Linked DNA regions of Homo sapiens: region 1 is linked to region 2. Evidence: promoter capture Hi-C in human tissues and cell types (Jung and others, 2019). All regions are on one chromosome and are shown on one strand. Each heading gives the region's core, a stretch centred on a gene start or on the middle of the fragment in contact. The rest is flanking DNA. Distances are from core to core; before and after follow the strand shown. Region 1 has its middle 35 kb from the start of TEKT1. Region 2 holds the start of ALOX12 (arachidonate 12-lipoxygenase, 12S type).

Evidence for each region. Contacts are between HindIII fragments. The study calls those that stand out against the background at their distance.
Region 1: a contact is called between a fragment that was not itself captured here and the fragment with the promoter of ALOX12 in region 2, in 2 of the 25 tissues and cell types used here (dorsolateral prefrontal cortex and spleen).

What each region holds. Positions count from the first base shown.
Region 1 is chr17:6,863,425-6,870,384 of GRCh38, reverse strand. It overlaps the pseudogene ALOX12P2. Among named protein-coding and RNA genes, the nearest start is that of TEKT1, 35 kb to the right of the region's middle. The HindIII fragment of the contact is 5,673 bases long and covers 1-4,713 here.
Region 2 is chr17:6,992,668-6,999,521 of GRCh38, reverse strand. ALOX12 (arachidonate 12-lipoxygenase, 12S type) reads right to left here and starts at 3,473. Exons shown (of 14, transcript NM_000697.3): 1 at 3,270-3,473; 2 at 2,495-2,696; 3 at 932-1,013; 4 at 685-807; 5 at 466-569; 6 at 56-216. The coding sequence starts at 3,404. All of the region lies in intron 2 of ALOX12-AS1 (ALOX12 antisense RNA 1), which reads left to right. The HindIII fragment of the contact is 20,112 bases long and covers 1-6,854 here.

The DNA of each region.
Region 1 (6,960 bases), core at 628-3,127, 130 kb after region 2:
AAACTACAGTGAAGCCAGGTGCAGAAGCTCATGCCTGTAGTCACAACACTTTGGGAGGCCGAGGTGGGAGGATTACTTGAGACCAGGAGGTCAAGAAGCCCGGGCAACAAGACCCCATCTCTGCAAAACAAATTTAAAAATTTTCCATGTGTGTTGTCATGTGTCTGTAGGTCCAGCTACTCTGGAGGTTGAGGCAGGAGGATTGCTTGAGCCCAGGAGGTGGAAGCTGCAGTGAGCCATGATTGTGCCACTGCACTCCAGCCTGAGCAACAGAGCAAGACCCTGTCTCAAACACTAAAAATTAAATAAATAAACAAACTACAATAGATACCAGTGTCAATACCAAATGCTGACAAGGATGAAGAGCAATAGGAACTTTCATTTATTGCTGGTGGGAATGCACGATGGCAGAGTGGCTTTGGAAAATTTGGAAGTTTCCCACAAACTAAATATATAGCTTTACCATCTGATCCAGCAGTTGTACTCCTAGATATTTAACTACTTATTTCAGCACAAAAACCTGCACATAAATGTTTATAGCGGTTTTATTCAAAATTGTCAACAACTGGAAGCAACCAAGATATCCTTCAATAGGTGAGTGAATAAACTGTAGTACAGTCATTCGATGGAATACGATTCAGCAACTTTTAAAATGAGCTATCACACAATTAAAAGACATGGAGCTTCTTGCCACTGAGTTTAAGAAAAAAGTAAGACATGGAGGAACTTCACACTGATGGCATTCTAGACAAGACAAAACTATAGAGACAGTAAAAAGATCAGCAGTTGGCAGAGGCTTGGAGAGAGCTGGAGAGGAATGAATAGGTAGAACATAGACAGTGTTAGGAGGTAAAACTATTCTGCATGATCTTGTAACGGAGAAATCATTATGAGTTTGTCAAAACCCTTAGAACCATACAATACCAAGAGTGAACTAATATAAACTATAGTCTTTAAATAGACTATATTTAACAATGTAAAGTATATGAACTGTAACAACACTAAAGCAAGATGCTAATAATAGGCGAAACTGTGTAAAGAGGAACAGGGATATGTGGGAATTCTCTGTGCTATATACTCAATTTTTCTGTAAATCAAATGCTGTTCTAAAAAATAAAGCCTATTGGCCGGGCACCGTGGCTCACACCTGTAATTCCAGCACTTTGGGAGGCCGAGGCAGGCAGATCACAAAGTCAAGAGATCGAGACCATCCTGGCCAACATGGTGAAACCCTGTCTCTACTAAAAATACAAAAATTAGCTGGGCATGGTGGTGTGCGCCTGTAGTCCCAGCTACTCGGGAGGCTGAGGTAGGAGAATCACTTGAACCCAGCAGGTGGAGGCTGCAGTGAGCTAAGATTGTGCCACTGCATTCCAGCCTGGGCGACAGAGCGAGACTCCGTCTCAGAAAAATAAATAAAGCCTATTCAAAAGCTTAATGGGAAGAATATTAAATAGTCCAATACCTGCAAGCCATAAACAAACTAATGAAGCCTGGATTCCCTTTAGTTTCTAACCCTAAAACCATCCTCATTTCAATACTCCCTGACACCAATTACTTCACGGTTGACTCATGTTTCCACCTTCTCCAGTAAATTCCTCTGCCCTGAATCACAGCATCTATTTGCCTTCACCTGCGTCAACCTAAAATAATCAAAAGAATCAGAGTCTAATTTAAAGGGAGTTTATTCAAGCACAAAGTGTGATTTTGTATTCTGATTTTGGAGCTCTGGATTGAGCTAATTTTATATCAAATTCAGGTGTTTAAGAGTTAATACAGAGTGTTTTTGTTTAGAGCCACTCTTTTTGCTACCTTATCAGCTAGCTAATTTTCTTTGCTTTCTGGGATATCTGATTTGAAATGGCCTGGAATTTTAATTATAAACAGTGACTGTGGTAATAATATAGCTTTCAAAAATCATGAAATGAGGTGGCCACTTTTTAAGGACTGACCAGAAGAAGTTAAAAATCCTGTGTTTCCATAGTGTTTCAAAATCATGAGCTACTCTAAAAACATATCTACTCTCTATATTAATATTAGCAGTTATTCCTCTTGCCAATTGACAAGTCCTGACTAATGTAATTAATTCTGTTTGTTGAGCTCAGGTGGTGCCTAGAAGCTTAACACTTTCCTCTTCTTCTTCTCCTCCTTCTTTTTTTCCCCCCAGTTAAAGATACTATTGTATAACCTGAGTGGTAAGTCCCAGATTTATCCTTTAAGTAAGATCCATTTGTAAACCAAACACCATTGGCAGTAGTAAGGGGGGTCTCTTTGAGGTCAGTCCTGGGAGAAAGAAGTTGATCAGTGATCAGTTAGGGTTATGCAATAGTGCAGTGTTTTATCTGGAAATGGAGACAGAAGAGTTGTAGGATTTAGGTTATTACATCTAGAGATGTTGATATGAGAAGCTGAAAGAAAGAAAACTTCGTATGAGACTAGTCTACTAACTGAATAATATTGAGTATGACGCGAGTTTAGCAAATGCTTTCACAAGAATGAGAAACAAAACCACTAAGGGCTGTCACCATGAGAATTTCGTCAGTTGCTTCAACTAACAAAGCAGGGGCTTTACGGCTCTCATGGAAGATGGAAATCCTCTTATTACAGAGTCTAACTGTTGGCTACAATACCCCACAGGTCTCTTTGGGCTCCATGTTTTTTAGTCAGGACCCTTAAAATCTTTCCATCACTTTCATGTACAAATACTGAAAATAGAAGATTATAATCTGCATGCACCAAAGCTTGGGCATTAGTAAAGTCATTTTTGATCATTTCTGACATTTCTTGATTTTCTTCTGTCCAAACAAGAGGGTCTGGAATGTCCTGTTTAAAAGAAGCATGTAAGGGCCAGGCATTCATTCATTCATTCATTTAGATGGAGTCTTATTCTTTTTGCCCAGGCTTGAGTGCACTGGCGCGACCTTGGCTCACTGCAACCTCTGCCTCCCGGGTTCAAGCGATTCTCCTGCCCCAGCCTCCCAAGTAGCTGGGATTACAGGCTCCCGCCACCACACTCAGCTATTTTTTTTGTATTTTTAGTAGAGGCAGGGTTTCACCATGTTGGCCAGGCTGGTCTCGAACTCCCGACCTCAGGTGATCCACCTGCCTCAGCCTCCCAAAGTGCTGGGATTACAGGCCTCATGCCTGAGCCACTGTGTCCGGCCAAGGGGCAGGCTTTTAAAGAAAAGTTTGGGATCCAAGTTTTTAAATGTCTTGCCAGCCCCCAGAACTCTCCCAGCTGTTTCTTGGTTCTTCATGGCAGAAGAGCTAAAACTCCTTTCAGTCGGTATGGACTAATAGAAAGTCCTTCCTTAAATATTAGGTGGCCTAAGCACGTCACTTGTTTTTGACAGGATTGGTGTTTTTCTTTTTTTTTTTTTTTTTTTTTTTTTTTTTTTTTTTTTTTTTTGAGACGGAGTCTCGCTCTGTCGCCCAGGCCGGACTGCGGACTGCAGTGGCGCAATCTCGGCTCACTGCAAGCTCCGCTTCCCGGGTTCACGCCATTCTCCTGCCTCAGCCTCCCGAGTAGCTGGGACTACAGGCGCCCGCCACCGCGCCCGGCTAATTTTTTTTTTGTATTTTTAGTAGAGACGGGGTTTCACCTTGTTAGCCAGGATGGTCTCGATCTCCTGACCTCATGATCCACCCGCCTCGGCCTCCCAAAGTGCTGGGATTACAGGCGGTGTTTTTCTTTAGAAGCTTTGTGTCCCTTTGAGTCTAATTGTTGTAACAAGTGAATCCCATTTTTAAGAAATAATTGCTTATCCTCTGAGCAGAGGAGTAAATTGCCTGTGTATTTTATTAAAATGAATTTTCAAGAAGTCAATATCTGGGAGATCTGCTTTTAATATTTGTGAAAAGTAAGCTGGGCTCTCAGTTCATCCCTGAGGCATGACTATTCATGTGTATTGTCTTCCTTCCCAAGTGAAGGTGAAGAGAAATTGATTATTTTTATCTACAGAAATATTAAAGAATGTACTACATAAGTCTATTACAGTAAAGAACTCAGCTTCAGCCGGCGAGGTGGCTCATGCCTGTAGTCCCAGCAATTTGGGAAGCCGAGGCAGGTGGATGGCTTGAGCCCAGGAGTTCAAGACCAGCCTGGGTAACAAGGGGGATAACCCCATCTCTACAAAATATACAAAAAGTAGCCAAGTGTTGTGGTGCGCACCTGTAGTCCCAGCTATACAGGAGGCCGAGGCGGGAGAACTGCTTGAGCCCAGGAGATTGAGGCCTCAGTGAGCTATAATCACACTGCACTCCAGCCTGGGCAACAGAGTAAGGCCCTGTCTCAAAGTAAAAAGAAAAGAACTCAGGTTCAGTTGGGATGTCAGTCAACAACATATGGAAGTTTGGCCCTTCTGGATGTCAAAGAGTGACTATGTTTTTAATTGCTGTCAGATTCTGTACAAACCTCCATCCTCTATCGTTTGATTTCCTTACAGGAAGGACTGGAGTATTACATTGGCTGTTACAGGGAATAATCAAGTCCTATTCTTAAATAATCTGAAACTATAGGCTTTATACCTTTTAGGGCTTCAGTTCTTAGAGGGTATTGTTTAAGGTTTGGAAGGGGTTTTGATGAATCTATTGAACTTTGATTGGGGTAGGCAAGATAAATTTTCCAAAATCAGTGGAAGACTTTAACCATGATTGATTAGGTACTACATTTAGTGGGTTTTATAATTTTTTACTACTCAATAATTTAGTGTCTTCCATGTCAATATGGATTGTTGACAAAAGTATGTCCAATAATTCAGTTTTATCATCTAATTCTAAATACATTTTCCTCTTGGGGAGAAAGAAATGTAGGTATTAAATAATTCTAAGAAGTCTCTTAGAGTATTTGTGACAACTACAGATTGAATTGTTTGTTTACTTCAAGGAATGGGACCTTGTAATAAGGTGGACTTTATTACAGATAAGGTGATTCCAGGTCTGTTAATAAGAGTTTGTGTTAGTTCTCCATTTAAAGTAATTTTTATTCATCTTAAAATAGAGCCAGGGTCATAAGCTCAAATATTTAATTGCGATTTTTCTGGCAAAACCAGAAGACTAGGACTCACAGGGTCCTAGTGAGGATCAGGAAATTCCTTAATTCTACCTTTAAGTTCTACCGTGACTGATACACTAGGGCAGGTTAATCCCTACCAGACACTGGCTGTTCCAGGGATGGAACCAGAGCAGAAGCAGGGGGAGGAGAAAGAAGAGGTCGTTCTAGGTAAAGTAGCCCAGGTAATAAAGGACAAAGAGAAGGAGGAGGTGAGGGAGGAGGAGGAGAAATTTCAGCTGTCTTTTTAAATTTGGAAATTGTTTTAGGTAACTTTTTATTCTCCTTTTGTAAAGAAGTAACTCTATTAAAATCTCTTTTGGATGTTTTAAATACCATTGAAAAGAACTCTCCTAACTATTCTGTTTTATCCTAGAACCAGCTTTTTCTTATTGAGCACACAGGTAAATTAGTTGAGGTATCCCACTTTGGCCATTGCAATTTTAGTTTTTCATGAGTTATGTGCAACCATTTTCTAAATAATGACAAGAAGTGGCACCATAAGTTTCATACATGAGTGCAGCTGGAGTTTCTAAAGGTGGATCTCTCCTTAGGGAGAAAGACTTGATTTTGGAGGGACAATAGTCCATAATTTGAGTTCTCTTAAGTGACCGAAGACCGTGGAAATGGAAATTCTGGTCACTCAAGAAGAGTTTAGCTATGTCAGCTGAACCAAGCTTCAGAACCTAGAAAATATAAAATCACAAATTTAATTTGAGCCACAAAGATTTGCTTCCTCTTTTCAAAGAGAAACACTTTCTCCTTCACCAAAGTTGAACAAGGGAAAAGGCTGAAAAGTTTTGGGAATAAAACAAAACCTTATCCTCAAAGGAATGTGAAAGCACAAATCTGCAAACCACAGAATCTCTAGAGAAATAACAAATGAAACTCCTACTTTTAAAAGTAAAGCTTCAATTTCAGTTTTCTTGAGCGTGGAATCAGGATGCTTCAATAAAGTCTGAATCTCAGCCAAAACCAGAGAGATTCAAAATCTGAGAGAAGCCAGGCCAGAGACCCTCTCCAGGTCCAATGAAGTCAAAGAAGTAAAAGCCACTTGTGCTGTACCAAAGCTCCAGATGTCAGCAAAGCAGTGAAGATTGCAGAAGGCTTACTTCAGGTCCCATCTGCAGGTTATCAAATGTCAACCTAAAATAATTAAAAGAGTCAGAGTCTAGTTTAAAGAGAGTTCATTCACACACAGAATGTGAGGATGGCCCACCCAGAAATCCCAACTCCAAAGGAATAGAGTCAGCAATCCGAAGCAGGGAAGTTAAGATTTCGTTTAGATAGGCAGAGACAGAGGAGTTTTTAGCAGGGTTGCATTATTCATACAGGGTTTGCACATAGATAGTCACAGAAATCTGATTAGTTATATGCAGTGTTTCTTATGAGTAAGAGTACATTTAACATTTTTTTTTGCAAAGGCTGTAATAATCGTGGGTTTTCTGTCATCTTGTCTAAGCAAATCAGGACAATAAAGGGGAGTTAATCTACAACAACAGTCATTAATTAAGAAGGCAGGAAGCTTTTGTCCCTGCCATCATTTAATTCTCTCTAGTCATTGAACAGATCAAGAAAAATAAGAAAACGAGTTAACCTATGATTATAATCTGAGAACAGAAGCTGAGACCATACATAACTCAGATCACAGTCACATCTCTATCAAGGCTTAAAAGTGTTCTTTGGGGTTCCAACAGCTTTTAAATTTATTCATTTTCACACCTGGGGAAATTAGCGGTACACTTGGACTATTATGCCTCAAAGATTAACAGCCTATTTTTTCCCAGACATTAAATGCAAATTTAGAGAGGAGCCAATGATGGCTGACTAGATGCAGCCAGGAAGAGCATCACTCACTGAGACACCAGACCATAGGGAAGACTGCCATACTCCAAGCAGACCTTCAGAGG
Region 2 (6,854 bases), core at 2,224-4,723:
GTTCTCACCACACTACTAAGGAGAGAACAGTGCCAGGCAGGGGAAGGAGAGGTACCTGAAGTTCTTTCTCCAGTTGAGCCTGAAGCTCTTCCATCCCCGAGGGCAGCACTAGCCTGGAGGGCAGAGAGGTCGAGCGTCTCAACAGCATGGGGTTGGCACCATTGAGGAACTGGTAGCTGAACAACTCATCATCCTGCCAGCACTGGCGAACCTTCTCTTTGGTGGGCGGTGAAAGGAGGATATATGTACCACAGCCTGCATATCCCTTCTCCAAAATCTACCCCAGGGGTTCAGGTATATAACCCTCCCTGAACCCAGCTTCTGCGTTTTCATTCTCAAGGCCTCTCTGAGTTGACCAGATATGATAAGGTCTCTTCTTGCAAAGAGTTACGGGGGACTGTGGAGTGTGATGAGTCATCCAGAGGGGCCATTAAGGGATTATGGAGACCTCGGGGAACCACTGACCAGCCAGGGCACTCTTCTGGCCCCAGAAGATCTGATCAAAGTCTTCTAGGCAGTTCCAGGAGCTCAGGAGGGTGTAAACACGTTTGAGGGCCATCTCCAGAGCCCTAGGACAGGTATTGAGGCTTAACTCATCAGCTGATCCCTCAGTCCCTCACCGTCTATCATCATTCTTGGCCCTCCCAGCCCTTATTTCACTCCGAGGTCTAGCCTTTTTCTCACCCTGCCTTCAGTGTCCATTCAAAGTCCAGCCTCTTCTCCTCATGGAATCTCATATTTGGAGGTAGATCATCCTTACGGTCTGCAGCGATGGTCAGGGGTAACCCTTCCTTCCAGGTGGCCCAGCTAGGAGTTGGGGACAAAGCTTCAGGAAGGATGTCATGGTCAGTGATGGGGCCAGGGGCAGGGGCAGGGGCAGGGAAGGGGTGGGACAGTGGTGGCGGGGTTAGTTTAAGGGGTGGGTGGTCACCAGTAGATCTGCTGTCTGTCTTTCAGTTCCTTCTCTCGATGCTTCTGGAACATGTCCAAAGCATTGTCTCCTGGCAGGCGGGCTGGGGAGACATCAAGACAATTGGCCTCACGGCTCTGTCTGGTCCTATGCCCGCCTCTTGTCCTCATCTCCCTGTGGTTAGCCGTATTCCATGTTTTCAGCCATGCACTGTTGCTTTTATCTCTGGCTTTGCCTCATTTGATTATCCACCAGACACGTTTATCCCATCTTTGCCAACTTTGCACTCCTGCTTTCTCTTATTTCAGCCCTCATCCTTTGCCTGTAGATAAAAACCTCCTGTTTGCCACCATTTCTTGCTCCTTCACTCATCTTCCCCTACCTGGCCTTACTTCATCAATATCTATGGTTGGAAAAAAATCACCTTAATTAAGGTGATGAAATCTTAGTCACCTATACACCTACACCTACTGTCTACTACAGATTGCTTTGATTAATTTCACATCTTAAACCTCACCTGCCACGCCTTCACCTGTCCTCAAAAGATTCTACATTTGCTTTTTTTTTTTTAAACCTCATCTTTCTGGATTTACTATCATAATCTGTATCTATGGACTTATTCTGGGTCTTTTCTGCATTTACACTCACCTGTCTCAAAGTCATAGATTTGATGTTCCATCCCTACTGCCCTCACTCATCTCTGGATTCATCTCTCTTTTACTCATTACCCATGGTTAAAAATTCACTATTTGGGCCGGGCGTGGTGGCTCAAGCCTGTAATCCCAGCACTTTGAGAGGCCAAGGAGGGCGGATCACGAGGTCAGGAGATCGAGACCATCCTGGCTAATACGGTGAAACTCCATCTCTACTAAAAAAAATATAAAAAATTAGCCGGGTGTGGTGGGGGGTGCCTGTAGTCCCAGCTACTCGGGAGGCTGAGGCAGGAGAATGGCGTGAACCCAGGAGGTGGAGGTTGCAGTGAGCCAAGATCGCACCACTGCACTCCAGCCTGGGCAACAAAGCAAGACTCCATCTCAAAAAAAAAAAAAAAAAAAATTCACTATTTGCCATCCTCATTCCTCCTCGTCTCCTGCGGGCCAGTGTGCTTCTTGTCTTTCACGGGTGTCTTCCGTGTTATTCCAACCAAACCAGCTCTCCAGCATCCTATGTTTTCTTCCCTTAGCTGTCTGCTCTCACGGGTCACCCACCCCCTCCTGTTCCATGTGGTCCCCTCACCTGACTTCTGAGTCACCTTTACATCTCCTTCCTACTTTCACTTTGCTTCTCTGTTTTCCTGGATCGCTGCAACTCCCACTTTCTGTCTTTGCCTTCTTGGAAGATGGGATCTCCAGATCACTTACTCCCTGCCTCCAGCCTCACACGCAGCCTCTCTTAGCCTGTGTAAAACTTTGGGAATTCATAACTCCTTCCCGTTTTCTGTCCAGCACCCTGGGATCCCTACATTTCACCTGCCCTGGGCCCATACATCCTCTAAGTCTGCTCCGACCGTCCTTAACTCTGCCCTCCTAGCCCCGCAGCAGTTCCCGAGACCTTGTGCCTCCTTCCCCGACGCCGCCTGCTCACCGGTGCCCTCGGGCAGGCTCAGGATGTCCTCGCCCTGCACCCAGCGGTAGCACGGGAAGGCCACCTCCGCGCAGGCTCCAGGGCCCTGCACCGTGATGCGGTCGCAGAACCACGCGTCGTCCACCAGCCAGTGGTGCTTGCGCAGCCTCACGAACTGCAGGAGCCCCAAGTCCTCTGCAACGTCATGATCAAACTCCTCCTCCTGTGCAGGCCGGACCCAGGCCAGACTTAGTAGGAGGGACCCGACTGAGGCCGTTTCGAGGACAGAGCCGCGCTCCTGTGCAACCTCAGTTTCTCAGGGCCTCCAAAGACAGCATCGCCTCGTTCCCGCCCCCGCACAACCTGCTCTTTGGGTCTCAGACGCCCGGAGTCGGGTGGAGGACGAGGGCCCGCAGCGCCTGGAGCTGATGCTGGAGCAGCATCGCCCACGTGGGTCCCATTAACTGAGCTCTCCCCGCGCCGGTTCTTGGAGGAGCTTCACGTCTGACCTCTGGCCTCATACTTACATTGGCTCTGGGTCACTGGGAGAAGGAGCTGGGGGCTGCCGGGACCAGGGGCGGGAAAGGGAGATGGGGTTGAGCCCAGCCCGGGATCCCAGCTGCGGACCCTGTCCCTAATCTTGCCCACCTCGTCCCAGCTTCGTGGAAGTCCCAGTCCGCGAGGTCGCGCTGTCACCTCGCCCCCAGCCTCCCGCCCTCCCGCCGCGAGCCCAGCTCGGCCCGGGCCTGGGCCCGGGGTCCCCGCTGCCCTAGCTCCCCTCGCTCCCCGCGCTGACCTCGCCCCGCGCGGGCCGCAGCTGCAGCTCCAGCTCCGCCTCCCCGCGCGTCCCGACCAGCCAAAGCTGCACGCGGTTGTACGACCCGGAGAAGAGCCAGGCCCCGGTGGCCACGCGGATGCGGTAGCGGCCCATGGCGCCCCCCAGCAGCTTAGGCGAGGGGAGCCGGGTCCTGTGCGATTCCCGGGACCGCCCAGGGCTGCCGGCGCCTCGGGGCCACTTCCAACCTTTAAAGGACCGGTCTGCGGCCCCGCCCTCCTCGCAAGTTTTAGGCGCTCCCAAGTCCCCGCCCCAGACTAGCCCAAACCTGCGAGCAGAGCGGTAGAGCCGGCTGTGGGGACTGGCTGTGCCTCCTGGTCGGAGCGTAGCTGCAGGATGATAAAGGGGCCCGAGCCAGGGTGAGGCCAACGGGGTGGGTGCGGCGGGACCTTCCTGGACCTCCCGGGAAGGCGGGATCGAGGTGGGCCTGAGCCCCCGGGTTGGAGCGAACATAGATGAGAACACTTCCCGAGGTCTCCAGGTCTTCTGGGGAGCCAGGAGGAAGTAGGGGATGAGTCCATCTTCCAAACGGAGGGGAAGGTCTCCGCTTTTCTGGGCTGGGACCCGGGGAAGGCAGTGGGCCGGCTTCTGGAAGGTCGGCCTGGGAGGCCGTGCTGGGGTCTGGGGATGTCCCGCGGCTAGACCCGGCGCGGCCCATGTGTCCTCCAGTACCTGAGCTCTGCCGCCCTTGAACGCTGTGCTTCCGTCAACGACCAGGGGTTCCCCAGGGTACCTAGAACCTGGAAATGTAGCAGCTCAACACCCGCTCCCCACCCCGTTTCAAATATCTGGGCGCTGGGGTCCCAATGTACACCAAATATCATGGGCCAGACCTTTGAGAGAGGCCTGAGGCAGGGCAGTGAAAAACTCATTTTGTCCAACCTCCGAAGCGGGTACAGACAATGTTAGGGACCCAGGAACACCAGTCGGGGTGTTAGGGTGCGGGATGGAATTGCTTAGGGACCTGGCCTACGTGGCCAGTTCCCAAGAACTTTGTCTTTTCCAGGTGAGTGCAGCCCCTTCCGCTCCAGTAGGTTCCAGATTAATTTTTTATCCCCAAGCTCTTTCCTGCTCCTTCATGGGTCTCAGGTCTCCTGGAAATCCAGGAACAGCAATTAGCCCACTGCTATTTAGGGCCTTTGTAAACATTGAAGGATGATTCGGAGCTTAGGCTTTCTCTCCCGTGTCAGGAATCAGTCAGATGAAGCCTGCTGCACGCGTCCCTGTCTAGATCTTGATTCAAGTGATTATATGCATTTGGATCTCCGTGGATGCATCTGGTGGCCTGGGCTAGGCCAGTGTAAGTTAAATCTGCTTTCTTGAGCCAGTCCTCAGAAATGACTTGGTGGCCTAGTTGTTGGTAGAGGTAAGTGAGTGGGAGTTTTAGCCCCGCCTTCCAGCCTCCAGATCAGACTCTATCTCAAAAATAAATAAATAAATAAATAAAAATAAAAAAATAAAGTGTCTGTCCCTTACTGGATTCAATTCCCTTTCTTATCTTCTAGGTCCACTCTGGCCTACATCCTCTGCTCAGGACTGCAGGTCGGCCATTTGCTGGTCCCCAGTTCTTCCAGTTTTCTGGGGTCACCCCATTCTGTAATATCCAAATAAAATGGCTCAAATTCCCATCCTGCCTAATAGTAGGATCTGGCCTTTCCACACACATTTTCGTGGGTTACTTTTGCCTAGAAAAGAGTTTGTCTCATACCTACTTCCAAAAGCACTGTTTCTTTGCTGTTTTGTGACTTATTTTCTGCCCACTCTAGTGTACTCTACGGCCACGTGCAGAGAGAGGGAATGAATAATTGAAAAACCGGATTCAAGCTACTGCGCATGCTAAATGAGTGAATATGGCTAAACAGTGAGAACAGTGCTTGGCGTGTAGTCCCTCTATGTATTAGCTGCTATGATTGTATTATTTACAACTGAATGTTAGCGTTGCTCCTCTACCGTTCCTCTCCGCATGCTATTTCTCCATGTCCCTCTCTAGGCCTAGCCTCTCACTAGAGCTCTTATCACTCTAGACCCTTCCCCCTCCTGCTTTTGTTTCCCTTTTAAGCACATGCGCTATGTTGGGAGAATATAATTAGAAGCAAAATTTTCTCCCAACCCAGAAAAAACCTCTCCACGAAAGTAGTGAAGAAAGAAAACAGTTTTATTATTGAATAAGCATTAAACCAGAATGTGAGCACATCACAGGCAGTTTGCTAAGAGACTGCAAAGACAGAAGGAAGTCTCACTTTTATCTAGCCAAGCAGATACAGCCCATTACATATGTGTTCTCAAGATAAACTATAAATAATCTTTAGGAGGACTCGATAGCACCATTTGTCACATATAGTGCAGTCTAGAGACACCTGGCAATTGTGATGACCATCTATGTTAGCTAACTGGCTTAATCAGAAGAAAAACTTCTCTTTTTTTTTTGAGATAGAGTCTTGCTCTGTTGCCCAGGCTAGAGTGCAGTGGCGTGATCTCGGCTCACTGCAACCTCCACCTCCCAGGTTCAAGCGATTCTCTTGCCTCAGCTTCCTGAGTAGCTGGGATTACAGGTGTGCACCACCAAGCCTGGCTAGTTTTTGTATTTTTAGTAGAGACGAGGTTTTGCCATGTTGGCCAGGCTGGTCTTAAACTCCTGACCTCAGATGATCCACCCACCTCGGCTTCCCAAAGTGCTGGGATTACAGGCGTGAGCCACCATGCCCAGCCAGCTTTTCAGATTTTTATGACAGCAGATAGTTTTGCAGCTCAAGCAAAGTGTCCATTTAAGTTAGTCCTACCCTCCCACAGAAACTGGGAAATGAAGGCTCCATCTTTCTTGGTGTTTACATTTCAAGGAGATGGCTCCTGGGTCTTTGTGAAAGACATCCCTGGGTAGTAAAGCTGGCAAGAGGCTGTGTGGCTTCTAAAAATATTTATACACGTTTTGAAGACACAGAAAATAACTTACAAGTTTTCTGGCTGGGTGCGGTGGCTCACGCCTGTAATCCCCGCACTTTGGGAGGCTGAGGTGGGTGGATCACCTGAGGTCAGGAGTTTGAGACCAGTCTGGCCAACATGGGGAAACCCCATCTCTACTAAAAATACAAAAAATTAGCCAGGCGTGGTAGAGGATGCCTGTAATCCCACCTACTTGGGAGGCTGAGGCAGGAGAATTGCTTGAACCCGGGAGGCGGAGGTTGCGGTGAGCTGAGATTGTGCCACTGTACTCCAGCCTGGGCAACAAGAGTGAGACTTTGTCTCAAAAAAAAAAAAAAAATTTTACAAGTTTTCTAAAGCAAATTTTCTAAGAAAAGAGAGGGTGGAGAAGTCTCTTCCCTTACTTTCAACATGGAGAACTAAGCCTTTAATTTTTTTTTTTTTTGAGATAGAGTCTTGCTCTGTTGCCTAGACGGGAGTGCAATGGCGCTACCTTGGCTCACTGCAATCTCCACATCCTAGGTTCAAGCGATTCTCCTGTCTCAGTCTCCTGAGTAGCTGGGATTACAGGCACGCACCACCATGCCTGGCTAATTTTTGTATTTTTGGTAGAGATGGGGTTTTACC